Linked DNA regions of Homo sapiens: all the other regions are linked to region 5. The links are contacts of gene promoters, found by promoter capture Hi-C in blood cells and fetal thymus (Javierre and others, 2016). All regions are on one chromosome and are shown on one strand. Each heading gives the region's core, a stretch centred on a gene start or on the middle of the fragment in contact. The rest is flanking DNA. Distances are from core to core; before and after follow the strand shown.

Region 1 (4,576 bases), core at 161-2,660, 6.5 Mb before region 5:
ACCGGCATTTGAAACCATGACATGAAATGCTAATATTTTTATTAGTCTTTCAGTAAATAAACAATATTCACTATCTAAATAAAATTATATTGGAAAAAAATACTATTGTATTACTTCATAATTAGCTATCAAGTTAGAAAAAAATTTCCACAGTAGTATCTAGTTCAGCTATTCTCAAAGTATGTTTTGGGAACCCCTGGAGGTCCCTCAGATAAAACTTATGAATAACACTATATTAGTTGTTTTTCACTTTTTCTCATGAATGCACGGTGGAGGTTTCCACAGGACACATAACATGTGATGTCTTAACAGACTGAATGCAGAAGCAGATAGGAAAATGTCTCCTCTATTAAGCCAGATATTAAAGATTCACAGAAATGTAAAACAATGCCACGCTTCTCACAAATTTGTTTTGTTTGGGAATAATTATTATAAAAATGTTACTTATATTAAAATAAGATTAGTTTATTAGTATTATTTAATAGGTCTCCAATATGTTAAATGCTAAGTTTCTAATATGGTAAATACCAATAGATTATAAGCTACACAAATAAAGGAACTTCAATACATTTTAGTAAGTGTAAAGGGGTCCTAAGACCAAGAAATTTGAAAATTGTTCCTCAAGTTTACCAAGTAATGGCAACTTTAACATGAATTCCTTTTGATAAGACTGATGTGGGGGGAGGTGAGGATTTAAATCATCTCATTCCATCTTGCAATATCTGCTATACTCTTAACTGCAGAAATCCATGAATGATATGTTTTTAAAGGTAGCTAATACCCATCTAAACTGAAGCCAATAGGAGAAACCTACCTTACTCTTTATCAAAATACACTCCTTCTTTCACAAAGATAACATGGAGCCATACTGCCACCAAATAATCTTTGGTAAGATTATTTAAAACAGCAGTTTGGCATACAGTAGGTGATAAGCCAGTAAAATGAGTATTTTTGGAAAAAGGAGTTCTAATACAGTTTGTATCATATGAATTATACATATTACCTCCTTGTTTTGCAGTCAAAAAGCACACTGACATTGAAGTCTCTGAAAAATCCTGAGATTATTTCCCAAACTCATTTAGCTACAGAATCCCTTTTTTCCCTAATAATATCTATCATATTCACTCAGAACATACTTTAGGAAACACTAGTATGATTAGCTAAATTAAAAAGCATTTAAAAGAAAACTTACCAAAATGAGTTTTTAAAATCGTATACTTTTCTTTAATCTTCCCCAAAATAATTTACTCAAAAATAAAATTTAGAAGTCTAGAATACTTGTAAGGTTGCTTCCAGTTCTAAGCTTGCAAATGATTATTTTAATGTGACTTAATTGATCAAAATTCCTTTTAAAAATTTTACTTTAAAGAAGATGGAAGTTCATTACTTATTAACTTCAGATGTGTGATGATCCTGTTTTAGTATCCTCTGGCAAAATATATTTTCAGGTAGTGAAACTGAAAATCCTTACTGTAATATTCTATCTTTCAATAAAATATTATGAATCCACTCTGACTCAAGCTTTCTTTGGTGATTTAGAATGTTTGAATTTTTCAAAATCAACTTTCATTTTAAAGTTAGAAGAGATACTTCCAGTTCTTAAATTCCTTGTGCTTTCTCTGGCTTTTGAGACTTTATACAAGCTGATGCCTCTGCTGGCAATCTTGTCTTACCTGCTCACCTCTACACCTCATTCTCCTTCATGTCTCAGTCTATGTCTCACTCACTGCCTTCCATGACCTATTTACACCACCTGTGCCCCTTTTTGGACACTTTGTGTTCCCACAGCACATTATACTCCTCGAATGTCCCTTCATCCCTCTAGCACTGTGTAGTACTTACCATATTAATTGTTCTTAATATATTTTGATACTTAGACTTTTAAGAATCTAATGACAGCTACGATCTTCTTCCCTGCAAAAATACACAAGCCCTACCATTATGTGCCCTGTTTTGGGGGTTCATAAGACTCATGCACTATACTAAAATTGCCAGTTTACTTGTCTGTGTCCTGCATAAGGAGAGATTGGGCCATGTTTACCTCTGTCTACCCAATACCTAATGCAGTACTTATAGTTAAGTGCTTAATAAAGTTCTAGTTGGATATATGAAGATTTAAGAATATGCAGAAACGACTGACTTCCCCACTCTCAAAAAACCCAAAACATTTTGTTAGCACCTATCCCAGCACATAAAAATAGATGCAGTAAAATTTTTTTACATGGTATAATTCTTTATTCTAATAGTTTTGGGGTGAGTTTGTTTGTTTTGAGACGGAGTCTCCCTCTGTCACCCAGGACGGAGTACAATGGCGGGATCTCGGCTCACTGCAACCTCCGCCTCCCAGGTTCAAGTGATTCTCCTGCCTCGCCTCCCGAGTAGCTGGAATTACAGGCGCCCCACCACCTAACCTGGCTAATTTTTGTATTTTTAGTAGAGACGGGGTTTTGCCATGTTGACCAGGCTGGTCTCGAACTTCTGACCTCAAGTAATTCGCCCCCTAGGCCTCCCAAGTGCTGGGATTACAGGCATGAGCCACAGCGTCCGGCCAATTCTAACAGTTTTAAAACACTTTTTAAAGAAAGCCTTAGAACATGTCTTCAAACAAATTTTAGACAAAACAGATTAAAGTAAAGGTACTCAGAAAGTATCTTACTTAAGTGGCATCAGGGAACACATATCTCAATGCTTGACTCTCTACTTGCTTCCTCTTAGCAGTCCCTGAGGTACCACCATGAAAGGGTCTCTGGAAAGAACAGTGGAAACAGACTAACAAACAATGCTATTATCCTCTCTTTCCCAAGAATCCTCTTCCCCACCCCTCATTTTCTCAGCAGATGACCTAACCTACTTTACAGGAGAACCTTTTTTAAAGCTGAAGCTTTGTTTCTTCCCTATCAAATCTGTAAACCTATCTACACCTGTACCAATTCTGTCTCTTATTAACACAACTGTCCCTCTTAATAAATATTTAAGATCCAATCCCTCTACTTATGCTTTGAATCCTAACTTCTCTGACTGCACGGAAATCCTACACTATAAATTAGACCTCCACATTCTAGTATGTACACTAACTTCCTCTCAACCAACTCCTTCCCATCTACATGTAAACATGCTCATTTTGCATCCACTTTAGGAAAAAACAAAAATCCTGCCTAACTGCTATTATCCAACACCTCCCCACCCAAATATCCTGGCTACCCCTTTCCCGTTCTCTTCCTCTCCGGAAACATGTTTTTAAAAGAATGGTCCATAGTCCATCTAATTTCGTATCCCATCCTCTCCTCAATCTACTCCACACTAGCTCCCACACTCATGACTTTACAAAAAATAGCTCTTATCAAAAGTTCACCTTCAATTATCAATAACTCCAATAAGCATTTTTAAATCTATACCTTATTTAATGTCCCATAATATTTCACCTAACTGTTGAACACTTCCTCATTTGCAAACTATCTTCTCTTAACTTTTGTGACACTCCTTGGCTTGCTTTCTTCCTCTCCAACCATTCCTTCTCATTTTTCTTTTAGGCTTATACTCCTCTATATAGCCATTAAATAGTGAAGTTCCTTAAGATCCTAGGTACCAGAGTCCAGTTCCAGATCCTCTTTTCTTCTCACTATATACTCTCTCTTTGGACAATTGTTATAACAATGATTGCCAAATTTCTATTTATAGCATAGACTTGCATAGCAAACTTTCTTAAAACAGCTCTCTAGAGCCCCAAAGCATCTGAAACTCAACATATGCAAAACTGAATTGATGGATCCTCATGAAAACATTCCCCACTAAAGTGTTCCCTACCTGGGTGGATGTCAACCCCATTTATCCAACCTTGGAAGCCAGAAACCAAGGAGCTGCATTTTGCACACAGTTCATTCCTTCCTCCTTCCCATCATATTCCCAATATCCAAGCAGTCACCAAGTTCAACTTAATTTTTCCTTCCTATTTTTAAATCCATCTACCTGTATCTCCATAACAGTCCAAATAATCTTTGCAATAAATGCATACCTTTCCCATATGCACTCATGCCCCATTCAAATCTATTCTCTATACTGCAATTAGAATGTTCTTTCCAAAATACATATTGGATCAAGTCACCCCTACTTAAAACACTTCTGATGCTTTCCTCACTCTTTGGATAAAGATCCAAATCCTTAACTTGGTCTATCAGCCCAGAAATGCATGTATGGTCACTTCTTATTTTTCTAGCTTCACCTGGCACATTCCCAGTCCCTTTCCCCAACTCTCACTTTTCACGTTTCAAACACATGGCCTTCTTTCAGGTTATTTACGCATAATCTCTCTCTCCTGTCAGACTTTATCATATAGCATACACTCTGCATTTCCCCACACTTCCTTGCCCAGACAACTCTTCCATGTGTCTCAGATCTTCCCTCTAATGTAACTTCCTTTGTTTTTCTATACTCTACACAATCCAAGTCTGTTTTCTTGGTTGCACACTTCCTGTGACTTTCCTTTATTAACTCAATATATTGGCTTGTGATTATACATTTAAAAGTGTAATTTAATGTTTTTCTACTTCACCATTAACTACAAAAGAGCAGGGGCCAT
Region 2 (4,718 bases), core at 638-3,137, 5.5 Mb before region 5:
AATCTTATCTAGACCAAATATCTCTAGATTTTTAACCCTTCTCCAAATGACTTTAGGTCATATTTGAAGAAATCCACAAAACACTTTATAAAAACTCTTTAACCATGTAAACATCCTCCTAATAGTTTATCAAAAGCATCCATAGTTTATCAAAAGCATTCATCCAGTTAGCTTCTGTTCCTGCAACCAAGTCTCTGACTGTTATGCCCCTGTCCCCTGAAAGATATGTTGAGCTTGACACTCCCCTACCCCCAAACCCAGTACCTAACCCCTGGCCCTCAGAATTTAAGCTTATTTGGAAATAGGGTCATGGCAGATGTAATTGATTAAGTTAAGATGAGGTTAGATTGGAGCAGTGTGGGCTTCTAATCCAATATGACTGGTGTCCTTATAAAACGATAGCTGTGCAAAGATATGGAGACGGCATGTGGTAACAAACGCACATACTGGATTTATGCAACTGCAAGCCAAGGGATGACAAAGAATTCCAGAGAACCAACAAAAGGGAAAAGAAGAATTTTCCTACAGGTTTCAGAGGGCGCATGGTCCCACTGACACCTTGATCTTGGACTTGATCAGAATCGCAGACAATACGTTCCTGCAACCAGTTTGTGCTGCTTTGTGACAGCATCCCTAGGAAACAAATACATTGGCTTTGAGTATATTCTGGACTTTCTTTTGATTCCAACAGGATCATTCCACTTAGTAATTCAGTGAAGTAAGGAAAATCAGGGAGCTTTTCCATTATCCCGAGTCCTTAGTTGAAACCGATTTCATATGAACAGAGTCTGTGAACTAATACACTGGATGTTAAACATGCTGTAGGGGGAATGAATCTCTTCATCAACATATTTAGATGGGCAAATATAACTTTATTTTTCTGTAATTTAATTTTTAAATAATAGTGCTACTGATATATAATTTACATATCATGAAATTCATCCTTTTAATGTACAATTCACTGGTTTTTAGCATAGAGCAAAGTTGTGCAACCATCAACATTACTTAATTTTAGAACATTTTCATCACTCAAAAAATAAACTTTAGGCCGGGCGCGGTGGCTCACGCCTGTAATCCCAGCACTTTGGGAGGCGGAGGCGGGCGGATCACGAGGTCAGGAGATCGAGACCATCCCGGCTAAAACGGTGAAACCCCGTCTCTACTAAAAATACAAAAAATTAGCCGGGCGTAGTGGCGGGCGCCTGTAGTCCCAGCTACTTGGGAGGCTGAGGCAGGAGAATGGCGTGAACCCGGGAGGCGGAGCTTGCAGTGAGCCGAGATCCCGCCACTGCACTCCAGCCTGGGCGACAGAGCGAGACTCCGTCTCAAAATAAATAAATAAATAAATAAATAAATAAATAAATAAACAAACTTTATATCCATTAGCAGTCATTCCCTACCTCCTGTCTCTGTTGATTTGTCTATTCTGGACTTTTTATAAATGTAATTGTATAATATATAGTATTTTAAACTGGCTTCTTTCACTTAGCGTAATGTTTTCAAAGTTCATCCATGTAACACTACTTAATTACTCTTTATTGACAGATAATATTCTATTTACAGATATATCAGTTTTGTTTAACCATTCATCATTTCATGGGTATTTGGATTGTTTCCACTTTTTTGCTATTATGAATAGTGCAGCTACGAATATTTGTGTACTAGCTTTGGTGAATACACCTTTTCATTTTTCTTTGTTATATACTTAGGAGTGGAATTGCTGGGTCATAAGATAATTATGTTTAAAAAAACAAAAAAGGAAGAGAAATAGAAGAACAAAATTAAAAAGATAACTGTGTTTAACATTTTGCGGAACTGTTTTCCATAGCAGCTGCATCATTTTACAGTCCCACCAGTGATGCACAATGGTTCCAGTTGCTATACAGCCTCACCAACACATGTTATAGATTTCTTTTTATTTTAATCATCCTAGTGGATATGAAGTGGTATCTCATTGTGGTTTTGATTTGTATTTCTTTAATGACTATTGATGTTGAGAATCTTTTCTTATGTTCATTGGCCACTTGCATATCTTCTTTGGAGAAATGTCATTCAAATCCTTTGTCCATTTCTTTAAATAGGCTATGTTTTTTAGAGCAGTGTTAGGTTCACAAAAAATTTGAGAGGAGGGTACAGAGAATGTCCATATGCTTTCCCCAAATACAGAGCTTCCTTAATCATCAACATTTGCACTGCAGTGGCACATTTGTCACCATCAAGGAACCTACATTAACACACAGTTGTCAACCAAAGCCCATAGTTTACATTAGGGTTCACTCTTGGTGGTGTACGTTCTATGCATTTGGACGAATGTATAATGACATATTTATATGTCCACCATTATAATATCATACAGAATATTTTTCCTACCCTAAGAATCCTCTGTGATTTTCCATTTATCCCTTCCTGCTCCCAACCCTTGCAACCCCTCATCTCTTTTATTCTCTCCATAATTTTGCCTTTTCCAGAATGTCATATAGATGGATTCATATAGTATGTAGCCTTTTTAGATTGGCTTCTTTCACTTAGTCATATAAATTTAAACTTCTTCCATGTCTTCTGATGGTTAAATATTTTTTTTTCTTTTTTTTCTTTTTTTTGAGAGTCTCACTCTGTTGCCCAGGCTGGAGCACAGTTGCGTGATCTGGGCCCACTGCAACCTCTGCCTTCTGGGTTCAAGCGATTCTCCTGCCTCAGCCTCCTGAATAGCTGGGACTACAGGTGCACACCACCACGCCCAGCTAATTTTTGTATTTTTAGTAGAGACGGGGTTTCACCATGTTGACCAGGCTAGTCTCAAATTCCTGACCTCAGGTGATCCGCCCGCCTCGGCCTCCCAAAGTGCTGGGATTACAGGCATGAGCCACCACACCCAGCTTAATATTTCTTTTTAGTGCTGAATAATATTCCATTAAGTTTATTTGGTTGCTTCCAAGTTTGGGCAATTATGAATAAAGCTGCTGTAAATATTCTGCACAGGTTTTAATGTGGACATACATTTTTAGCTTATTTGGGCAAATACCAAGCAGCACTACTGCTGGATTTCATGGTGAGAATATGTTAGTTTTATAAAAAACTAAACTGTGTTGCAAAGTGGCTATACCATTTTGCATTGCCACAATCAATGAATGAGAATTCTTTGCCCATTTTCTAATTGGGTAATTTTTCTTTTCTATTGTTGCGTTTAAGACTTTCAATCAGTATATTCTAGACACAAGTCCTTATCATTCTGATTGCTGGGTCTCCTCAAGTTCCCTGGATCTTGTTGCCATAGCTGCATCTCTCTTGGCCACATGGGAGAAGCATCCTGCTGTTTCAAATGCCATGACATGCTGGGTAGCCTGAGGATTTAGTGATACTTTTCTAGGTTCATCTACAAAGGAGGATACCTACAGGTCTTTCTAATCTATAGCTGTACCTCCATGGAAGGTGAGACAAACCATCTCTTATACTGGTATGTGATTTACAATCTTTTCTTTTAGCCCTAAGCTTTGTTTCCTAACTCATTCAGGTTTTTGAGGTTTAATACTCAGAAACCAGTCTGTAGAATTCAAACTTTTCTCTCAAATTATTGTCTCTGCTATCAAGTTTAAAATCTATTTTAAAATTCAAAAGCAATAATTTGATTTCTTTTTTTTCTGCCTCCATGATACCTCTGTTTGAGTTTGAAAGGAGGCAGATGCCAGGATGTAATACTGCAAAACTATCATCTTGCTATATAAAATGGTCGTCTAAAAGCAAGCTGAGACTAAACAGGTACAAGTTGCACAGGTAGTGAAGCTCAGTGAGAGCAAGTGATGCAAGAGTCATTCTGAAGGGTGAAGAGCAACTTTGCTTTGTATTCCAACTCCATAGTCATGGGTTCTGCAATTGGAAATAGCTTAAACAAAGAGGGGAATACATTTTAAGGATACGGTGATGTCTCATAGAACCCCAGGACCAGAAAGCAGTTAGGCCTTGGGAATAAATGGAATCAGGAACTCAAATATAATCACACTCTTCACCTTTTCTGGTTCACGAAATTACTGAAAACTCCCATTTTTTGCAGTTCCTAGTGGCATTTAAAGATAATCTGATCTTTCTTTCTAAACTACACTTCCAAAATTCCCAGAAAAGGACAGTTTCCCAAATTGAGTAAATGTGGCCAGGGCAAGGGGAATGGAGGAAAGTCCCACTGTAATAACATAGACATTTTCATGGTTACCAGGCAAATGGTGTGGTAGAGATGGGGAAAATTTAAAAAATCAGTTTGCAAAACAGGTGAATCTGGCAGGTGCTCTGTTTGTTTTTCCTGGCTGCATGTAGTTGAAAGTTCAAACCTCTTAGACCTTCAAAATCTCCCTTTAATCTGTTTTTCCTACTTTTTCTGTTAACCCTGTATCATTCCCTACACCCTGAATCTAGAAGCACCAAGCTATTTTCTCTTCCTGGAATGCACTGTGCTCTTCATGCCTATCAGCCTTTATACAGGTTTCTTCTTAGTTTGGAATGCCATTTTCTCCCTAGTCTGCCTGGTAACTTCTAGTCATCTTTTAGGTCTAGCTCAGAGTTATATCTGGAAACACTTGACTTTCAAATAAGAGTTTATTGCTCTTTTTGTGTTTCACTTTGTTTGCACTATTCTAGGACTCCTATCACATTGGATTGTAGTTGCCTAATCTGTCTCTTTTCTCTACCACCTTGGACATTTTAGAAGTAAAACTATGCCTTGATCTTAT
Region 3 (4,901 bases), core at 1,615-4,114, 5.0 Mb after region 5:
ATAATAGATCTCCTTATATATATCTTACTGGTTTTGATTCTCCGGAAAGCCCTAACACAAGCTCCACACCTAGAAAGTGCTATTTTTACTGCCTGAGACCCAAACCCACCCAACCCAATTAAATATTATTCTTTCCAGGAAGTTCAGAAATAGTATTCTGCTGCACTGTATTCAGAACTGGAGTATGCAGAGGATAGCCAGTCCCTCAGCATTTTAGTGACACGGCTAGAGAGCAGCATTTCTTTAATATATGCATTTGTTCTATATTTTCTACCCTCCATATCTTCATCCTAGGTCTCTGGCATCCCAGGAGAAACTAAGCTGGAACTTAGCCAACTCATGGAGCTGCAGGAAGCGTTGGTGTTCCAGTTACCCACAATGTAGCTTTTAAGGGTGAGCATTGCAAAGGTGGAGTAGAGGCTTCTGGCAGGTGCAGCTCCAAGACATTCTCTGACATCACAGTTAGCTGACATTTCTGTTTGCAGGTAACATTCTCTCCTTTAACCCCATCCCCATCCAAGCTAGTTATAGGTGACTGTTTTGATGATGTCTGTGTGTTCTGCCAATAAAAATGTCCATTATTTTCTAAACACTTGATATAAGAAAGTACAACTTATCTCAAAATTTGCTTATATTACCACAAGACATTTGAACATTATATTTGACAACTAAAGGAGAGCTGTTTAATTTGAACTGTTGTAAATTTTAGAATGGTTATAAAAATGCTTTTTTCATTTACTTTTATGAAGAAAGTTTTTCTTTGATGATGACTATCAAGAATTTGAAGAGATCATCCTTAAAAAGTCTGGATCAGGAATTGATGGTAGTCATTTCAAATATAATAATTTATGTTAAAAATTATATTCATGAAGGAAAGCTTATTAAAAATTCTTACTAAAATTTCAAAGAGTCTATTTGGTGTTTTATACAAATTTAGTGTTTAACATTGTCTCTAATACATTGTATTTCATTTTTCAAAATTATATAATGTAAAAAAAAAGATGGTTTTTAAAATTAAGCCCTGAATAGATGACTTCAATCCCTTCTAGTTTATCCCAGAGTATCTTACAATATTATCTTTTTTTCTTTCTTTCTTTCTTTTTCTTTTTTTTTTTTTTTTGAGACGGAGTCTTGTTCTGTCACCCAGGCTGGAGTGCAGTGGCATGATCTCGGCTCACTGCCACCTCTGCCTCCTGGGTTTAAGCGATTCTCCTGCTTCAGCCTCCTGATTAGCTGGGATTACAGGTGTCTGCCACCACACCCGGCTAATTTTTGTATTTTTAGTAGAGACAGGGTTTCACCATGTTGGCCAGGCTGGTCTCGAACTCCTGACCTCAGGTCATCTGCCCCCCTCAGCCTCCCAGAGTGCTGGGATTAGAAGCGTGACCCACCACGCCTGGCCAATATATCATTTTCTATGTGTGCCATGACATGAAAAAGTTTGGGAAGCACCGAGTTAGGAGGCTGTTGCAGTATTCAAGGCAAGACATAATAGTGGTTTAAACAACATGGATAGTGGCCATAGGGGTTATAGATAAACGGATAAATGGGAGGCATTGAGGAAATAGAATTGGTAGAGTTAGTGATTGGTGGGAGTTATTGACTGACACTGGAAGTGGGGAAGGAGGTAAAGGAAAGGGCAATATAGAGGAGGATTTCCAGATTTTTCATTTGTGCAATTCATTGTAGAAAGGGTGCCTTTTGCAAGAGGCAAGAAGAAGAGCGGGAACAAGGTTAGGGAAGAGGAGAATGAAGAAATAAGTTTTAAACATGTTGAGCTAGAGGTTCCAGAGAGTATTATGATCAAGTAGGCAGCTGATCTTCCGGGAAAAGACAAAGCTAGAGAAACAGATGCTGATCTACTGATGATATTAATAATTAAATTCATGGAAATTGAAAGATATGTAAAGTGAGACTAGGACTTAAGAAAGAGCTGTAAGGAATAAAATGGTTAAGGAGTGGGTAGAGCTGGAGTAACTACCAAAGAAAGTTGTGGAAAATAATTTAAAAAAACTATGATATTGTAGAAACCAACATGAAAAGGATGTTTGTGTTGAATACTTACAAGAAGTTAAACATGGCCGGGCGCGGTGGCTCACGCCTGTAATCCCAGCACTTTGGGAGGCCGAGACGGGCAGATCACGAGGTCAGGAGAGCGAGACCATCCTGGCTAACACGGTGAAACGCCGTCTCTACTAAAAACACAAAAAATTAGCTGGGCGTGGTGGCGGGCGTCTGTAGTCCCAGCTACTTGGGAGGCTGAGGCAGGAGAATGGCGGGAACCCAGGAGGCGGAGCTTGCAGTGAGCCGAGATCGCGTCACTGCACTCCAGCCTGGGCAACAGAGTGAGACTCCATCTCCACAAAAAAAAAAAAAAAAAAAGAAGTTAAACATGAGAAAATCTTGAAAAGGGTCTGTTGGGTCTAGGAACTCAGAGGTCACCCATAACCTTGACTAGGGCAGTTTCCAAGGTGGGAACAGAAACTAGATGAGTTGGACTGAGTGAGAGGTGAGAGAAATGAGGACAGTAATGTGGACAACTTTTTGAGAAATTTGATTGTTAAGGGAAGGCAAAATACAGAACAGTATAAATTAAACCCACATTGCGGCGAGGGAGTTTAGGGCTTTGGCAAGAGTATAGCTGAATGATGGGCCATGGGAGCTAACCTGAAGAGAGGATAAAGAGATGATGGGAGGGTATGATAGTTTGGGAGAAGGTAGAAGGGTCACTAGGGTGGAGGTTTGCCATGTGATTGAAGAACAGGTGTGGTGAACGTTTCCTGGGCAAACTGGGTGGATCTGGGGTTGTGTTTAGAGAGTGAGACTTTTGAATTTGTGATTTCAAAGGTGGTGCAGTTTCAGGTAAGGGCAACATTCAATCTGAGATACGATTGGGAGAAAAGGAGGGAACTGAGAAGGGCAGGAACTGAGACGTCAGGATGTCTGTGAGTCATTCATCTAACTGTCTGCTGTTGGACATTGAGGTTGTTTTTAACACTCCCCCCTCCCCCCTTTAAATATCACTGAGATGAACATCCGTGAACATTATTTAAATTTAGTGTTTTTAGGGTATCTTCATGCAAAAGCTATTCTATTTCTTTGGTAATCTTAAAATGCTTCAAGTTTGCTTATGCTTTAGAGAGGGGTGGTAAACTAATTGTAGTTAGGATTTCTGTGCTTTATCTTCAAAGCACAGGTTTTAGAATTCTGATAGAGTTCTTATCTTGATTCTGCCACATATCTTGAATAAATTACTTAAAATTTCAACTTTAGTTTATCTAATACCTACATCAAAGGTTTTGGTGCAGATTAAAAGTGACTGGTTCATAGAAATTAAATATGAAGTAATTGTTAGTTTTCCTTTTTTCCTTCTTGGTGTGGTGATAATGGGCAAAACAGTTCTCCATCACAGATAATAGGAGACTATTGTCCCATCATAGCTTAGTTGCTAACTGGTACAAAATTGGAAAGAAAAGAGAGGCTGGATTGGGGAGATTTGTTGAGGGGAAAAAAGTGTGCTGGTGATTTTTTTATGTATACTCTTTCCACTAGCCCCAGTAAGAGGGGTCTCTGCTCTGAGCCACACACTTTAAAATCTCCTTTTATACCATGTTTGTCATGGGATGAGAGCTCTAGGTACTCAAGCCCCTGAAATAGCCCCCAGACAGCCCCAAAGCTACGTGTACAAGTTTCTCCTCTGGGTCTGTCCTCCGGAGGGCTAGCCAAAGTGTATCTGTGTATGCGTATGTGTGTGTGAATGGGCTCAGATGGGCAGGCTTGGGAGCCCACATGTGGGTGTGTAAAGGCCCCTTGCAGTGTAGATTGAGCCCAGAGTAGGAGGACAGGGGTATAAATCAGGAGTTGGAGGCTAGCTTTGCTTATACCACTACATTCTAGTGAAAGGGAATATTGTCAAGGTAGGAGGATGGAATATATTTTATTTACCAGTTTACCTTGATTTACTGCTTATAAATATTTAGGCATATAATATGTGAGCCTCCATTTGTACTCTTACCCTGAGCCCCACAGATGTTAGGAGAATGTCTGCTTTTGTAAGTGCTAGATTTCTGTTCCTGTGTACTACTCGTGATTTATAGGTAAGATGTTCCCAGCTTGGATTTGCTATTTCCTAAATTTTCCACAGATGTCTGTACCTTATCAGGTAGGTCTCAGCTCAAACAGCACCTCAGAGATAGTGATATGGTCCTCCCTTTGGCTCCCTCTCCCTTCACTTCTATCTATTACTAAGTTTTATTTCTAGCCCTTTACCTATCAACATCATCTTTTTAATTATTTTCTCTCTTGTTTATTTTCTGTCCTCCTACCCCTTACCAGACCCTGCCCATTGGATGTTAGCTGAACTGGGGTGAGAATTGTAAGTGTTTAGTAGACACTTAATAACTTTTTAGAAAGTAAATGAGTATCTACATTTCTAAATAAATGCTGTTTACTTTATTTCAGGTGTAAGGATTGGGTTAACCAAATGTTTTCTATAACTGGGGGAAGATTTAATAAATAAATTGATATATAATTGGCATACCAACTATTTGTAATGAAGATTTCTCGAGTATTTGAGGGTTTTGAAAATTCTTCATTCTCCTGGTCAGTTTAAATATCTCTCCAATCTTCATGTTACTAAGTTTTAGGATACTTTTTTCCCCTGGATTTTCCAAGGGTAAACTTTAGTTCTTTCCAAATACCTATTTAATTCATTTGAATAGTTTGCTTGTTGAAAGTTAATAAGGTGTTATTATGGCACTAATGATTACTTTCAGAAATAACTGATATTTTAATCAAAAAATATGTAAAAATAGAGAGAATAGACAGAGTTTTATTTTCTGAGCTTCCGAGCTAAGCTTTATCATCATGATATACTTCAGCATCGGTTTTTCATGGCAGAA
Region 4 (4,793 bases), core at 940-3,439, 5.6 Mb before region 5:
TTGTTGTAGCCAAATTCATTGTCATACCAGGAAATGAGCTTGACAAAGTGGTCGTTGAGGGCAGTGCCAGCCCCAGCATTGAAGGTGGAAGAGTGGGTGTCACTGTTGAAGTCGGAGGAGACCACCTGGTGCCCAGTGTAGCCCAGGATGCCTTTGAGGGGGCCCTCTGATGCCTGCTTCACCACCTTCTTGATGTCATCATATTTGGCAGGTTTTTCCAGATGGTAGGTGAGGTCCACCACTGACACGTTGGCAGTGGGGACACGGAGGGCCATGCCAGTGAGCTTACCATTCAGCTCAGGGATGACCTTCCTCACAGCCTTGGCAGCCCAGTAGTGGCAGGGATGATGTTCTGGAGAGCCCTGTGGCTGTCACGCCACAGTTTCCTGGAGGGGCCATTCACAGTCTTCTGGGTGGCAGTGATGGCGTGGACTGTGGTCATGAGTCCTTCCACGATACCAAAGTTGTCAGTGATGACTTTGGCCAGGGGCGCTAGGCAGTTGGTGGTTCAGGTGGCATTGCTGATGATCTTGAGGCTGTTGTCATACTTCTCATGGTTCACACCCATCGTGAACATGGGGGGATCAGCAGAGGGGGCAGAGATGATGACCCTTTTGGCTCCCCACTGCAAGTGAGCCCCAGCATTCTCCATGGTGGTGAAGATGCCAGTGGACTCCATGACATACTCAGTGCCAGCATCACCCCACTTGATTTTGGAGGGATCTGGCTCCTGGAAGATAGTGATGGGATTTCCATTGATGACAAGCTTCCCGTTCTCAGCCTTGACGGTGCCATGGAATTTACCATGGGTGGGATCATACTGGAACATGTAGACCATGTAGCTGAGGTCAATGAATGGGTCATTGATGGCGATAATATCTACTTTACCAGAATTACAAGCAGCCCTGATGACCAGGCGCCCAATACAACCAAATCCATTGACTCCAACCTTCACTTTCCCCATGGTGTCTCAGGGATGTGGTTGGCAATGCAAGAGAAGATGCAGCTGTCTGTCAAACAGGAGGAGCAGAGAGCCCTGCCTAAATTATTTCATGCACTCTCATAGCGTTGGTTACCATCTGCATTCATAACTCTCAGATATATGTGTTCAACCTAGATCTTCTTTCCAGCTCATGTATCTCATAGCTTGTGTGGTTCTCTTTAATGTAACTCAGGCATCTTGAAAATCAACATGTTAAAAACCTATCTCCCCCCCTCCCACAATCTGTTCTTCTTTCATATTTCCCTATTTCCACACATGCCAAAAGTGATCAATGACATTTTATAATATTCTCCCTTCCAACACACATCCAATTCATGACCACCTCCTATTAATTCTGCTTGCAAAATATATCTTGATTTTTTCCACTTCCCTCAGCTCTACTGCATATAATTTAACCGAAAATTCCATCATTTCTCTCCCACCTTAAACACTTCAAACTTCAATCACCTCATTTTTTTTTTTTTTTTTTTGAGACAGTCTTGCTCTGTCACCCAGACTGGAGTGCAGTGGCATGATCTTGGCTCACTGCGACCTCCGCCTCCCAGGTTCAAGTGATTCTCCTGTCTCAGCCTCTTGAGTAGCTGGGATTACAGGCACTCACCACCATGCCCGGCTAATTTTTGTATTTTTAGTAGAGATGGGGTTTCACCATGTTGGTCAGGCTGGTCTCGAACTCTTGACTTCGTAATTCGCCTGCCTTGGCCTCCCAAAGTGCTGGGATTATAGGCGTGAGTAACTGTGCCTGGCCTCAATCACCCCTTAACTGATCTCTCTGCATCCATTTATTTCCTCCTACAATTTATTCTCACACAGTACTTTGAGTATCTTTTAAAATTGCATGTCAGATGATGGCATTTCTCATCTTAAAATCTCTTAATATTTCTAGTACTCTCAGGAAGCTCCAAAGCCTCCACATCTAGAAGCTTAGAACATTGTAAATCTTTCTTCTTGCCTAATGAAAGTGTGATCTAGAATGCCTATCATTCCTTTACCACTTCTGCTTTTAGTATACAGGGAAGCTAATCAGGACCTCCTTCTGTTTCTCCAAAGAGCCAAGCTTCCCTTGACTCAGGGCTTTTGCACATAACTTTCTCCCTCTTGGAATACTCTTTCACAACCTCTGACTAGAGCTAATACCCACTTTACCTTAAATGTATGACCTAGGAAAACTCTGACTCCAATAACAAGGTTAGATCCCCGTTACACACATGTTCACGGTGTCTTGTACTTTTTTGTCATAGTATTTGTATCATTTAGCATTAGATATGATTACATATTACAGAAAAACCCAAAAGAAAAGTGCCTAAAGCAAAATAGAAGCTTTTTATTTTTCACTTCCTTAAAGGATGTCAGGATGTGGACAGACCAAAGTTAGTAGAGATAAAAGAGCCAGTAAAAGGTAAGCACGTAATAACAGACCTTTAAGATACATAAAGCAATATTTGACAGACTAAGAAAAAAATTAGACAAATTCAAGATTATTGTTATAGAATTTAATACCCCTATTATATAATTAATATAATAAATAGGCAAAGATAAATTATAATATAGAAGAGATGTATTACACTGTAAATCATTTGACCTGGTGGAGGCCAAATTCATGGGCATGAAACAATCACAAAGATCTATAATTTTATGGGCTGTTAAATAACTCTTAATAAATTTCAAATAGGAAATAATATAGAACTTGACCACAAGGGGATTAAATGGGAAATCAATAACAATGAAATATCTATAAAAAATTTTAAGGTCAAGCACAGTTGTTCACACCTGTAATCCCAACGTTTTGGGAGGCAGAGGCAGGAGGATCAATTGAGGCTGGAAGTTTGAGATCAGCCTGGGCACCTAGTGAGGCCCTGTCTCAACAACAGCAACAGAAAGTATCCAAACTAATTTATTGAGAGTTTTTAGCATGAAGGGCTGTTGAGTTTTGTCAAAGGCCTTTTCTGCATCTATTGAGATAATCATGTGGTTTTTGTCTTTGGTTCTGTTTATATATTGGATTACGTTTATTGACATGCGTATGTTGAACCAGCCTTGCATCCCAGGGATGAAGCCCACTTGATCATGGTGCATAAGCTTTTTGATGTGCTGCTGGATTCGGTTTGCCAGTATTTTATTGAGGATTTTTGCGTCGATGTTCATCAGGGATATTGGTCTAAAATTCTCTTTTTTTGTTGTGTCTCTGCCAGGCTTTGGTATCAGGATGATGCTGGCCTCATAAAATGAGTTACGAAGGATTCCCTCTTTTTCTATTGATTGGAATAGTTTCAGAAGGAATGGTAACAGCTCCTCCTTGTACCTCTGGTAGAATTTGGCTGTGAATCCATCTGATCCTGGACTTTTTTTGGTTGGTAAGCTATAAATTATTGCCTCAATTTCAGCTCCTGTTATTGGTCTATTCAGAGATTCAACTTCCTCCTGGTTTAGCCTTGGGAGAGTGTATATGTCGAGGAATTTATCCATTTCTTCTAGATTTTCTAGTTTATTTGCATAGAGGTGTTTATAGTATTCTCTGATGGTAGTTTGTATTTCTGTGGGATTGGTGGTGATATCCCCTTTATCATTTTTTATTGCATCTATTTGATTCTTCTCTCATTTCTTCTTTATTAGTCTTGCTAGCAGTCTATCAATTTTGTTGATCTTTTCAAAAAACCAGCTCCTGGATTCATTGATTTTTTGAAGGGTTTTTGTGTCTCTATCTCCTTCAGTTCTGCTCTGATCTTAGTTATTTCTTGCCTTCTGCTAGCTTTTGAATGTGTTTGCTCTTGCTTCTCTAGTTCTTTTAATTGTGATGTTAGGGTGTTAATTTTAGATCTTTCCTGCTGTCTTTTGTGGGCATTTAGTGCTATAAATTTCCCTCTCCACACTGCTTTAAATGTGTCCCAGAGATTCTGGTATGTTGTGTCTTTGTTCTCATTGGTTTCAAAGAACATCTTTATTTCTGCCTTCATTTTGTTATGTACCCAGTAGTCATTCAGGAGCAGGTTGTTCAGTTTCCATGTAGTTGCGTAGTTTTGAGTGAGTTTCTTAATGCTGATTTCTAGTTTGATTGCACTGTGGTCTGAGAGACAGTTTGTTATAATTTCTGTTCTTTTACATTTGCTGAGGAGCGCTTTACTTCCAACTATGTGGTCAATTTTGGAATAAGTGTGATGTGGTGCTGAGAAGAATGTATATTCTGTTGATTTGGGGTGGAGAGTTCCATAGATGTCTATTAGGTCCACTTGGTGCAGAGCTGAGTTCAGGTCCTGGATATCCTTGTTAACTTTCTGTCTCATTGATCTGTCTAATGTTGATAGTGGGGTGTTAAAGTCTCCCATTATTATTGTGTGGGAGTCTAAGTCTCTTTCTAGGTCTCTAAGGACTTGCTTTATGAATCTGGGTGCTCCTGTATTGGGTACATATATATTTAGGATAGTTAGCTCTTCTTTTTGAATTGATCCCTTTACCATTATGTAATGACCTTCTTTGTCTCTTTTGATCTTTGTTGGTTTAAAGTCTGTTTTATCAGAGACTAGGATTGCAACCCCTGCCTTTTTTGTTTTCCATTTCCTTGGTAGATCTTCCTCCATCCCTTTATTTTGAGCCTATGTGTGTCTCTGCACGTGAGATGGGTTTCCTGAATACAGCACACTGATGGGTCTTGACTCTTTATCCAATTTGCCAGTCTGTGTCTTTTAAGTGGAGTATTTAGCCCATTTACATTTAAGGTTAATATTGTTATGTGTGAATTTGATCCTGTCATTATGATGTTAGCTGGTTATTTTGCTTGTTAGTTGATGCAGTT
Region 5 (4,667 bases), core at 678-3,177:
TGAACCTGGAAGGTGGCTGTTGCAGTGAGCCGAGACCGCATCACTGCACTCCAGCCTGGGCAAGAGAGTGAGACTCCGTCTCAAAAATAAAAATAAAAATAAAAATCATATGAAGCTTACATTTCTTTCATACTAAACCTGTTAGTCTAGCTTGGAATACCTTCCAGATGACAGAAAGCAAATAATAATTAGTGTTCCCTCTGTTAAGGATCCCACTTCTCCCACACTCCTACAGTTCAAACATCTCACCATCACAGAGCACACTTCTCAGTAAAACATCAACTACTATTTAAGCTCAATAATATTTAAACCAAGAATCAACAAGAAAGCAAGGCCACTTTTAGGGAAGAAATCTAACTTCAACATAGTCACAAATAATGGTTACACCAGAGAAAAATGAAGTTACCAAATTCCTTGCGCATTCCTCCCTGTTGCTATCCTTGGGAATCAACTACCTTAAGATAAAGAGTAAGAATGGTTGCCTGTTCAAAACATCAGAGAAAACAGCTTGCGGATGCTGTCAATGAGAACTATCTCAGATTTCTTTCCACCAAAAGCAAATCTGGTGTTAATTTTAATGGAAAAGTCTCCTCTACTACCTATTGCATCGCAACAATTTCTTGAAATAGTAAAATGAAGTAAAACAAGTTTATTTCGGGGGCAGAATCTTCTGATTTCAAAATGTCAATTGAATTTATCAATTTTAACCTTTCGGAATATTTCAGGTTTTTTTGGGGAGGGTGGCATCAAGTCCTCTTAAGAATATTATAGGGATGTGGCCGGGTGCGGTGGCTCACGCCTGTAATCCCAGCACTTCGGGAGGCCGAGGCAGGCGGCTCACGAGGTCAGGAGATCGAGACCATCCTGGCTAAAACGGTGAAACCCCGTCTCTACTAAAAAAAAAAAAAAAAAATACAAAAAAATTAGCGTGGTAGCGTGGTGGCGTGGTGGCGGGCGCCTGTAGCCCCAGCTACTCGGGAGGCTGAGGCAGGAGAATGGCGTGAACCCGGGAGGAGGAGCTTGCGGTGAGCCGAGACCGCACCACTGCACTCCAGCCTGGGTGACAGAGCGAGACTCCGTCTCAAAAATAAAAAATTCTAAGGATGTTGGGACGGGTACCACTTTGCTTTCTGATTTCTGTCCAACAAATCTTTATGATCGTCTGTTTTATTCAACAATACTGCGGGAAAAGCTTCAGCTGCAAGCTGAGGGGGTGGGAGGTGGGGAGATGGAAGAACGCGCTGCAGGTGTGCGGATTCTGCCTAAAATTGCGGCTACGAACTGGACCTTGAACACTCCTCCGTCAGCTGACTTGACTGCCTGTGTACAGTCTCAATTTGAGCCGACACACGGATTTCACTTTTGAAAAGCAACGAAGATGAAGAACTCGTTTTGAGAAATGGATGAGAAAAAGGTAGCTCAGGAGACGAAGCCTCGGGAAAGGAGGCAATCAACCCCACCCCACCGGCCTGTGCTTCCGGCCTCGACGCTCCGCCGTGCTCCCCGAGGCCGCTCCTCTGCGGAGCTCGCTCTCCCCACTGGTCCCCAGTCCCGCAGCTACGCGGCCTCCGCACGGTTAAGCAGCACGGGCCGGGCGTCTGCACCTTCGGAGAAAAGCCGCCGCCCAGGCTCCGCGCTGCGGCGTTACCTGTTAAGAAGCAGGGAGGCGGCGCTGAGACAGAGCAGCAGGAAGCAGAACAGCGGGTACTGGCGGCAGATCTCGCGTCCCACGTCCAGTCGCAGCCGCTGCTTCAGCTTCTGCCCCATCGTCCGCACCCAGGGCACCATCTCCGTAACGGCGAGGCCGAGACTGCGCTACTGGCTGAGGCAGAGGTCAAGGCGACCCCCCATCCACACCTCGCGTCCCCGCCCCACCGACTTGGCGGCGCACACAGACGCCTACCGGCAGTTAGCCGCCGCAGGCTGAGGTCGCGTCCGGCTGGGCCCAGCCCCACGCCCCCCGCCGCGCGTGCGCGGCCGCGGTCCCCAGCCGACCAGAGGAACGGCCGTAGAACGTGCCCGAAGTCGTCACCCAGCGCAAAGCCTCTAGCGTCTCGCCGCTCCGCCCTCCTGGCCGGAGTAGCGCGCAGTCTTCCGTGGAAACTCTGACAACACTGGCGACCGGCCATTTCCGGAAATCAAAGGACAGCCCCAGCACCCAGTAACTGCCTGTATTGCGGAGGAGAGGGAAGAAGGTTGTAGGGAGCCCGGAAGAAACTACAGCACCCCCGTAGCCGCCGGGCGCTGCCTGAGGGGCAACCGGAGCTCGTGGAGCCCGCTGGGAACTGTAGTCTTCGTGACACGAACCCGCAGAGGGATGGAGCGGGTGGTAGCGCTTCCCCGACCCCGCAACGCTCCGCGCCTCACCGTACACTCGGCTCCGGGTGGGAGCAGGTCCGAGCTTTGCGTGACGCCTAAGGGAGAGGGGGATAGGAGGACGCCTTTGAGTCGGTATTTTAAAAGGGGTGTGTTGGGGGCTGGGGGGGTGGCGAGTAAAACAGCCCTAGAATAAAGACTACAACTCATCAGGCCGCCACCCCACCAACAAAATCTCTTTTGCGCGCTCACGGGCAAGGGTAGAGCTCAATTCACGCCGGCTCCGGGAGCCCAACCAAAATCCGAGTGCTTGGAAGAGGCAGGTTGGCAGATTAGGTAAAATCCCTCTTATAGAGTCTCATGGGGTTTTCCCTTTACTAATTCATCACATTTCTAAATTTTTTTTTCTGTATTGTCCGCTACAGTGAGAGATGCAGGAAGACTATTATCGCGAAAATTTACTTAGGCGGTACAGACACTAAGCACTTTCATTTGACCTTCATGCATTCACCCCATGGTGTAGGTACAGTACTATAGTTTCAATCATTATACAGGCAAATTACTGAGACAGAAAGGAACTTAGGATCATAAAACTAACAAAGCCGGAATTTGAACACGTTCTAAAGACAGAGCCTGTGCCTGTCATCTCTCTTTCCTAGGATCTTATCCTTCAAAGTGGGGAAACAAATGTTTTTTAATGATGTATGTAGTTTCATGAATATTTTCCCGTATTACAAAAACATGGATCTTTAATGATGCATTATTATCCTTTATCAGAATGTACCATCCTGTTCCATTATTGCTAACCACTAAAGTCCATTGATATTACCATCCTTGATGATAAACCTATGCACATTTCTAATTATTTAGAATCAACTTTAATACAATTACTGGGTCAAAGGGTAAAAACAAACATTCTTGATACAGTCAAACTGCTTTGTAGAATGGTGGTACCAACTCCACAGTGGTGTATAAAAGTAAACAATTTCACTGATCCTCACGATTAGCTATTATTGTCTAAACATCACAAATACACTTTTCTGTTTGTGACTAAACCATTTAAAAGACTACAGTGTAACATCATTGGAAAGCTTACCATTTTTTAATATTTCTAGGTACATATTTAAACATTTATTAATTTCACTTTGGCAGTTTTTAAGTATCTTTATCTGTTAATACTAAAATAGGTGTATGTTGAGTGGATCTACATGTATCAAGTGCCTCCTATGGACTTGAGTGCTTTACACTTTTGTAAATTACCTTTTAAAAAACTAATCTCATGACAAATAATGTAAGTTATTAACCTGCCTGGTAAATTATGTTGCCTTTTGTTTAAAACTTTTGCTTCCTTTTAAAGCCTTATTTTGAAATTACTCTTTTCACCAAGAGCCAGTATATTTTAAAGACAAAATGTTTTGAGTTCTGTTCAAAACAGACATCACTACAACATCCAATTAAAAGACTTCTTTCCCATCTGATTTCTTAGAGGCAATTAGAATAAGTTAACTGGACAATAGATAATTTAAATTTCCAAATTGCTCTTATGATTAGAAAAGGAAAAAAAATATAATAAACTTCAGCCATAAGGAAATTCTTTATGGCAGAGAATTTCCACACCTAAAGCATGAAACATAATTCAATTTCTGTCACTACGGACCTCATCTAAGGAAATAACCTTTATTTCATTACATGTCTTTAGCCTATGGTCTAGAACCCACCTTTACACGCACAGAGCTCGAAATTTTTTCCCCAACCTTGTTAAGTTCTGAACTTTGGAGAGGTTATATGGAATATCCACAATCAACCAACCCTGGTTCTGAAACTAGCTCTATCTCCTACTAGCAACATGTTAGCAAGATTAACTTGATCTATCTCACTCCTACCTCAACTCTAAAACAGAGCTATTTTCATAAAACAGGTGGGGGGTGGGGGCTAAAATGGGTGGAAAGTTGGAAAGTGCCTCTTAAATATCTCTGTACAATGCTTAAGACAAAATTTTTTTTTCAAATTTTATGGCTTTATGAACATGACAATAATGAGCTAAACCAATTAGCTTTTATTTGGATTACGACAATCTAAAATGAAAATGACATATTAAATACCTGATTTCTAGGAAAACTGAGGTCCAGAAAGGCTGACTGCCTACGCTAAAGTTCTACATCTGCACTGTCCAATACAATAGTCAGTAGCCACATGTGGCCAGGGAGCACTTGAAATGTGGTTTGTTGTGATGTGTAAAGTACCTGTCACATTTCAAAGACTTACCATGAAAACTGTATTAAATGTAAATTAAAATTAGTTTTAAGGCAATTACATATTAAATGTTTTGGAAATAATTGCCTTAAAGTATT
Region 6 (4,906 bases), core at 144-2,643, 6.5 Mb before region 5:
ATGTACAAAGTCTGTAAATATCAAATAGAAAGAAAAGTCTTATTTGGAAGTTCTAGATTTTAGTTCCCAAAGCAATGATCCTTGCAATTTTTTGTTCAGCCAACTCTTTTGCATATAAGGATAGTTCAGATTCCATCTATATCCTTTCCTGTTTGTTTATTTTAACATTTTTATGGGTTTCCAAAAATAAAATATCACTTTAAAAAGATCTCCATGCAGTTTAAATAACAAGGTTAACAAATAATAGTAAAAGTTTGGAAAGCCAAGACCTAACGTTTTTACATAATATAGTCTCTCTAGGAGATATAGAAACTTTTCTTGAAATATAAAAGTTTATGTGAAATTCATCACTTTTCACGTGGCAACACATGAAACAAAATAAATATTTAACAAAAATTTTGTCTTGATCTTGTAAGCTATTATTCCAATAAAATAATCAAATACTATCATTTCAGTTGTTTCAGGAACAAGATGGGATGGTATTTATAAGTACAAAAATTATACATTTATGAAATTTAATCTCCAGTAGTATGGTGAATAATACGTAACTCAAAAAATCTCTATAAGTACAACTTTTAAAATTTCATGTTAAATCTTGCTTTTGTTTTGATGTTACATTTCTTCTATAGCAGAAGCTTTATCCTGTGAAATACAGAAATGTAAAAGTAGAAAACACTGTTCTCTCAAAAGTACTTTAAAAAAAACTACTCATCTGCCCCAAGAACACAATACAACTGTCAAGGATCTTATTTAACAAGCCACACTCCTCACTGTGGCTTGCTCCCCAATATTGTGTGTTTCTGTCCATGCTTATCTGACTTTCTCTCTCTCTTACACACACACACACACACACACACATATCCTTCTTCATAGAGCATGAATATTTATCAGATTTGAAGCACATGAACAGATATACTATTTGGCTGCTCCAAAAAGAATAGAGATAACCAACTTAAGTGAGCCATTCCATTATTTAACAATGTTTTTGTTATTTAACATTAACAGTTCTCCCTTATATCTCACTGAGGAATCTTTTTACTTAAATTAGAGCACGTTTCCTTTTAATGTGTAACAAATATAGCTAGTCCTCAACAATCATGTTATCCCTTATGTATTTAAATGTTAGTAATTCACTCAATCTTTTTTATCCAAGTTAAATAATTCTAGTAGTTTGTATTTTTATAAGTCTTAATTTGCACAAGAAATACACATCTTCATGGGTTTATTTATATAGTTTGTTTTAAATGATCACTTCATGAGTTTTAACAGTACAATTACAAAGATTAAAGGAGAAAAACAATTTTAGAACATATTCCCCTAAGATTTGGAGCAACACAGTGGATGAAGCAGAAAAAGCTGTTCCAGATGGCAGGAAACATAAAGGAGAAGTCTGTAGGCATGTTCTATCATAGGAAGATGTCTGATGGACTGGGAGTGGGCTGAGTTGAACAGAGAACAGTGAAAGAAGAGAAGGTAAAGTGGGGGAGGGGAGGAGAAAATGGGTGCAGAGGCTCTGGTAGTACACTATTATCTATGCGATGTTAAGATGGCATTTGAGAAAAACAGTTACATAGTCACTTGCCTTTATATGTGCCTAAAGCCATAAACTTCAGGAACCCCAAAGAAAAAGCATTTTAGTTATAGAAAAGGAAGGGAAAGTTTTATCTGACAAATAGTGAGGAATCTATACAGAGTAAAAATAATGGATATCAAGGACACCAAAGTAGACACTACTGATGACAAAGAAGAACAGGTGTTTGAAAGAATAAGGACTGAACATTCAGAGCACTCACAAGTCTGACTTGAGACTCATATATAAGTTCTAATTCAAAATTAAGAATAAAGCAACTTAGATTTAACTGTAACCAAAAATACTCTATTTTCTGAATTCCTATAAGAGACCTAATTATACAATCTAATTTGTATATTATTTTTGTTTTTCTTCATATATGGGGATGTGTGTGTACTTGCGAAGGTCCCCCTGACTTATGCCTCTGTTGCTTTATTCTCTTTCACAGATATTCTCATACATGTTTATTGAAACAATGACTAGCTATTACAAAAAAATTAGTTATATCATAGTTAAAAATTTAAAACAATATTGATACCAGGTAGATCTTTCAACCAAGATGTGTGTGCTAAAATTTAAGAAAAGCTTATAATTTGATTTTAAGATTACACCTACAAATCTTGTTACACTAACAGTTTTCATGTTTACACTTGAGTGCCTAAAAATACAGGTGCAGACGAAATGGCTGGAGTGGATTTTTAAATGCTCATCAAAATTTACCAACTGATAATGATTTATAGACAAACTATGATAGCCTTTAGATGGAATATTGTGGTAAGAATATATGTGGTATTTCCCCTTAACAGGTATCAGAAGTAATGCCTCTAAGACATCATTAGAGAAAATCTTTCTTAAAAATGTTGGGTAAGTAGCATCATGTGAGAAGGAAGAAGTATATTGTCTTTTTGTCTTATTATAGTTTGTACATGTTACACTTTACACTTGTTTTTGTCATTCAGTGTTTTGGGTTTTTTGGCAAGTACTTGTGTAAGAATTCCATCTTTCCCTGATATTCCGGCATTTTCAGTTTTTTCTGTGTCTCTGTAAAAGTTTCCTTCTTTTCCATCAGTGAAATGTTAGTTTCCAAAGGTAAAATACGGAAAATAAGATATGTAATTATTTGGAGAAACAATTCCCATGTTATATTTTCAGTTTGGATATATTCTAAGAACTCTAAAAATATAAATATGAATCTATTCTTTCCTCTTATAATTGGGACTGTCACACATTAAAATCTTCAACATCTCTTATTTTCAGGTTTCCTGGTTATTATACAAAAGACTAAAACAATTTAAAGAATTGGTGTCAAAAGGAGGAAAAAACATGTAGCCTGCCTCCCTGTCTTCCTTCCTTTCTTCCTGCCTTGCTTCCCTGCTTCCCTCTTCCTGCTTTCTTTCCTCTGTTTTTCCATAAGGAAAGAAATGAAGTGCTAAGTGGCAAACGTTTGCTGTTTGTGCAGTATGTATTTGCATTTTTGTGTTGCCAAATTTTTCTTATTTCAACATTTTTACCGAAGTCCAGGTAAATGTGGCCCTCTTCAGATGTTAGATTTTACTGAGTTAGAGGAATTACTAAATTTTAAAAAAAGTTTTTGCATTTTTCACACTCCATAAAGTTTTCAGGACTTACATAAACTTAAACCTCTCTATGGTTAATATTGCTTAACTTCACTTCTTTGAGATATTTAGATAACTTGTTTCATTTTCATTTTTAGATCCAGATCGTATTATACCTTAAAAAAATTTAGATCAGTTTGTGTTGAACACACAATGGCAAATTTCCGTGGCACGATAGTGAAGATACTTTCCCCTAAAGCCTATTAACAGGCATTCTTCTATTAGAATAGTAATTACAAAGGTAATTTCCTCTGTTAATCACCCAACTTTTTTCCTGTTATTATTTTATGATCTTTTCCCTTTTTACTACTCATAATATTTTAATAGAAATTTTTTTAATGTTAAAAAAGATGAAAAAAATAAGAACTTCTGTCACAAGTTCTGGTGTTCTGCATTGCTGTGAAGCTGTGTTTTTTTTTTCCTGGGCAAAATTATTTAAGATGACATAAAAACCCAAAGTCAACCTCTAACATCTGTCCTTGGCCCTTATATGTCATTCCTACTACTATAGTATTCTCATTGCAGCGTTATTCCTTTCTCTCTGTGTGTCAGCTGAAGAACCATCATTTAAACACTTGCAGTTTGACCCTCATTATGTACTTTGTTTCAACACATGGAGATGCCCAGCTTACTAGAGGCTGATAATCTGAAGCAGCAGTGACCCCTCTAACCACAACATCTGGAAAACAAAGGTTGCATAATCTGGCTAGTCTCCAGAAATTTTCAGTTATTAAAATCTGACTTTGTTTAACAGCAATAACTCAATTTATTGAATGGATTGCAAGAGATATGAATCAATGGCTATATATACCATTCAAATTTAACTGCAAAGAATTCACATTTTTGAAACAATGAGTATTTCATATAGACTATGTTTCTGTATCTTAACCTAATTGCTTTTAGTACAAAATGTATATATTTTACAATGCTAGCCGGAATAAAGTCTACCAAGTTATTTTTAGCATCTGCAAAACAACATGCTAAAACTTTGTGAAGTAATCACTTGAGTGTGATAGACTCTTGAATTTTTTTTCAAAACACTTTTTGAGTGAGGGTATTATTTTCATATTTTAAAATTAACAGTTAATTTATAACAGATTATTTTTATTTATACAATATTATTAACCATAGAGAGGTTTCAATCAAGTCCTCTAGCCACAAGTAGATTGAAACTTACAAACTAGAGTCACAAGTTGCATTTACTCCAAAAAATTTTTTAGTGTGCAGATTTTTTCCTTTTAGCTTTTTTAGGTTACAAACATGTTGTCATTCATTAAAAGTTTAGTTTTTCTTTTCCTAACATATTTATGCTTCAACACAGTAATATTTGGAGTCTAGAAATCAAGTCATTAACTTTGGAGCGATGTTTCAAACCTTTTTATTATGGAAAAATTGTCAAACATTCAAAAAAGTAAGGAGAATAGAAGGATAACCCCCAGATTTCCAATTCCCAGTGTTCACAATTATCCACATTTCGACATTCTGGTTTTACCTATCCTCCCCAACCTTTCTTACTTGAATATTTTAAAGTAAATCTCATCATTATCCTTGTAAATAATTTGGTGTGCAGTCCAGAAGCAAATTCTTGACTAAGTTCTTTTATTGATTGATTGACTCATTTATTTACTATCTCATATATTAAACATTTGTTGAGCTACCATATTCCAGACACTGGATTAAGCCCTGGGAATTGATTAGCCAGGCAATGTCATTAGCATCC

The links. The method cuts DNA at HindIII sites, captures the fragments that hold promoters and counts their contacts. A CHiCAGO score of 5 or more calls a contact.
Region 1: a fragment that was not itself captured here is called in contact with the fragment with the promoter of SNX14 in region 5 in 4 of 17 cell types (total CD8 T cells, total B cells, total CD4 T cells and 1 more); the score reaches 8.0 in total CD8 T cells.
Region 2: a fragment that was not itself captured here is called in contact with the fragment with the promoter of SNX14 in region 5 in 1 of 17 cell types (non-activated CD4 T cells); the score reaches 5.3 in non-activated CD4 T cells.
Region 3: a contact is called between a fragment that was not itself captured here and the fragment with the promoter of SNX14 in region 5, in 1 of 17 cell types (total CD4 T cells). The highest score is 6.5, in total CD4 T cells.
Region 4: a fragment that was not itself captured here is called in contact with the fragment with the promoter of SNX14 in region 5 in 1 of 17 cell types (fetal thymus); the score reaches 7.3 in fetal thymus.
Region 6: a fragment that was not itself captured here is called in contact with the fragment with the promoter of SNX14 in region 5 in 10 of 17 cell types (naive B cells, total CD4 T cells, activated CD4 T cells and 7 more); the score reaches 17.0 in naive B cells.

The regions. Positions count from the first base shown.
Region 1 is chr6:79,061,165-79,065,740 of GRCh38, forward strand. The region is part of intron 4 of PHIP (PHIP subunit of CUL4-Ring ligase complex); the gene reads right to left. The region is part of intron 1 of LOC124901346 (a long non-coding RNA gene); the gene reads left to right. Among named protein-coding and RNA genes, the nearest start is that of PHIP, 15 kb to the right of the region's middle. The HindIII fragment of the contact is 218 bases long and covers 1,302-1,519 here.
Region 2 is chr6:80,100,456-80,105,173 of GRCh38, forward strand. No RefSeq gene overlaps it. Among named protein-coding and RNA genes, the nearest start is that of BCKDHB, 3.9 kb to the right of the region's middle. The HindIII fragment of the contact is 3,199 bases long and covers 289-3,487 here.
Region 3 is chr6:90,592,226-90,597,126 of GRCh38, forward strand. No RefSeq gene overlaps it. Among named protein-coding and RNA genes, the nearest start is that of MAP3K7, 7.6 kb to the left of the region's middle. The HindIII fragment of the contact is 3,979 bases long and covers 876-4,854 here.
Region 4 is chr6:79,953,048-79,957,840 of GRCh38, forward strand. All of the region lies in intron 1 of LOC124901351 (a long non-coding RNA gene), which reads left to right. It also overlaps the pseudogene GAPDHP63. Among named protein-coding and RNA genes, the nearest start is that of ELOVL4, 7.9 kb to the left of the region's middle. The HindIII fragment of the contact is 263 bases long and covers 2,059-2,321 here.
Region 5 is chr6:85,591,931-85,596,597 of GRCh38, forward strand. SNX14 (sorting nexin 14) reads right to left here and starts at 1,928. Exons shown (of 29, transcript NM_153816.6): 1 at 1,649-1,928. The coding sequence starts at 1,788. RefSeq lists enhancers at 419-1,004, 1,005-1,588, 1,589-2,172, 1,621-1,790, 2,101-2,220 and a silencer at 1,851-2,070. The HindIII fragment of the contact is 2,215 bases long and covers 1,191-3,405 here.
Region 6 is chr6:79,081,038-79,085,943 of GRCh38, forward strand. No RefSeq gene overlaps it. Among named protein-coding and RNA genes, the nearest start is that of PHIP, 5.2 kb to the left of the region's middle. The HindIII fragment of the contact is 1,520 bases long and covers 634-2,153 here.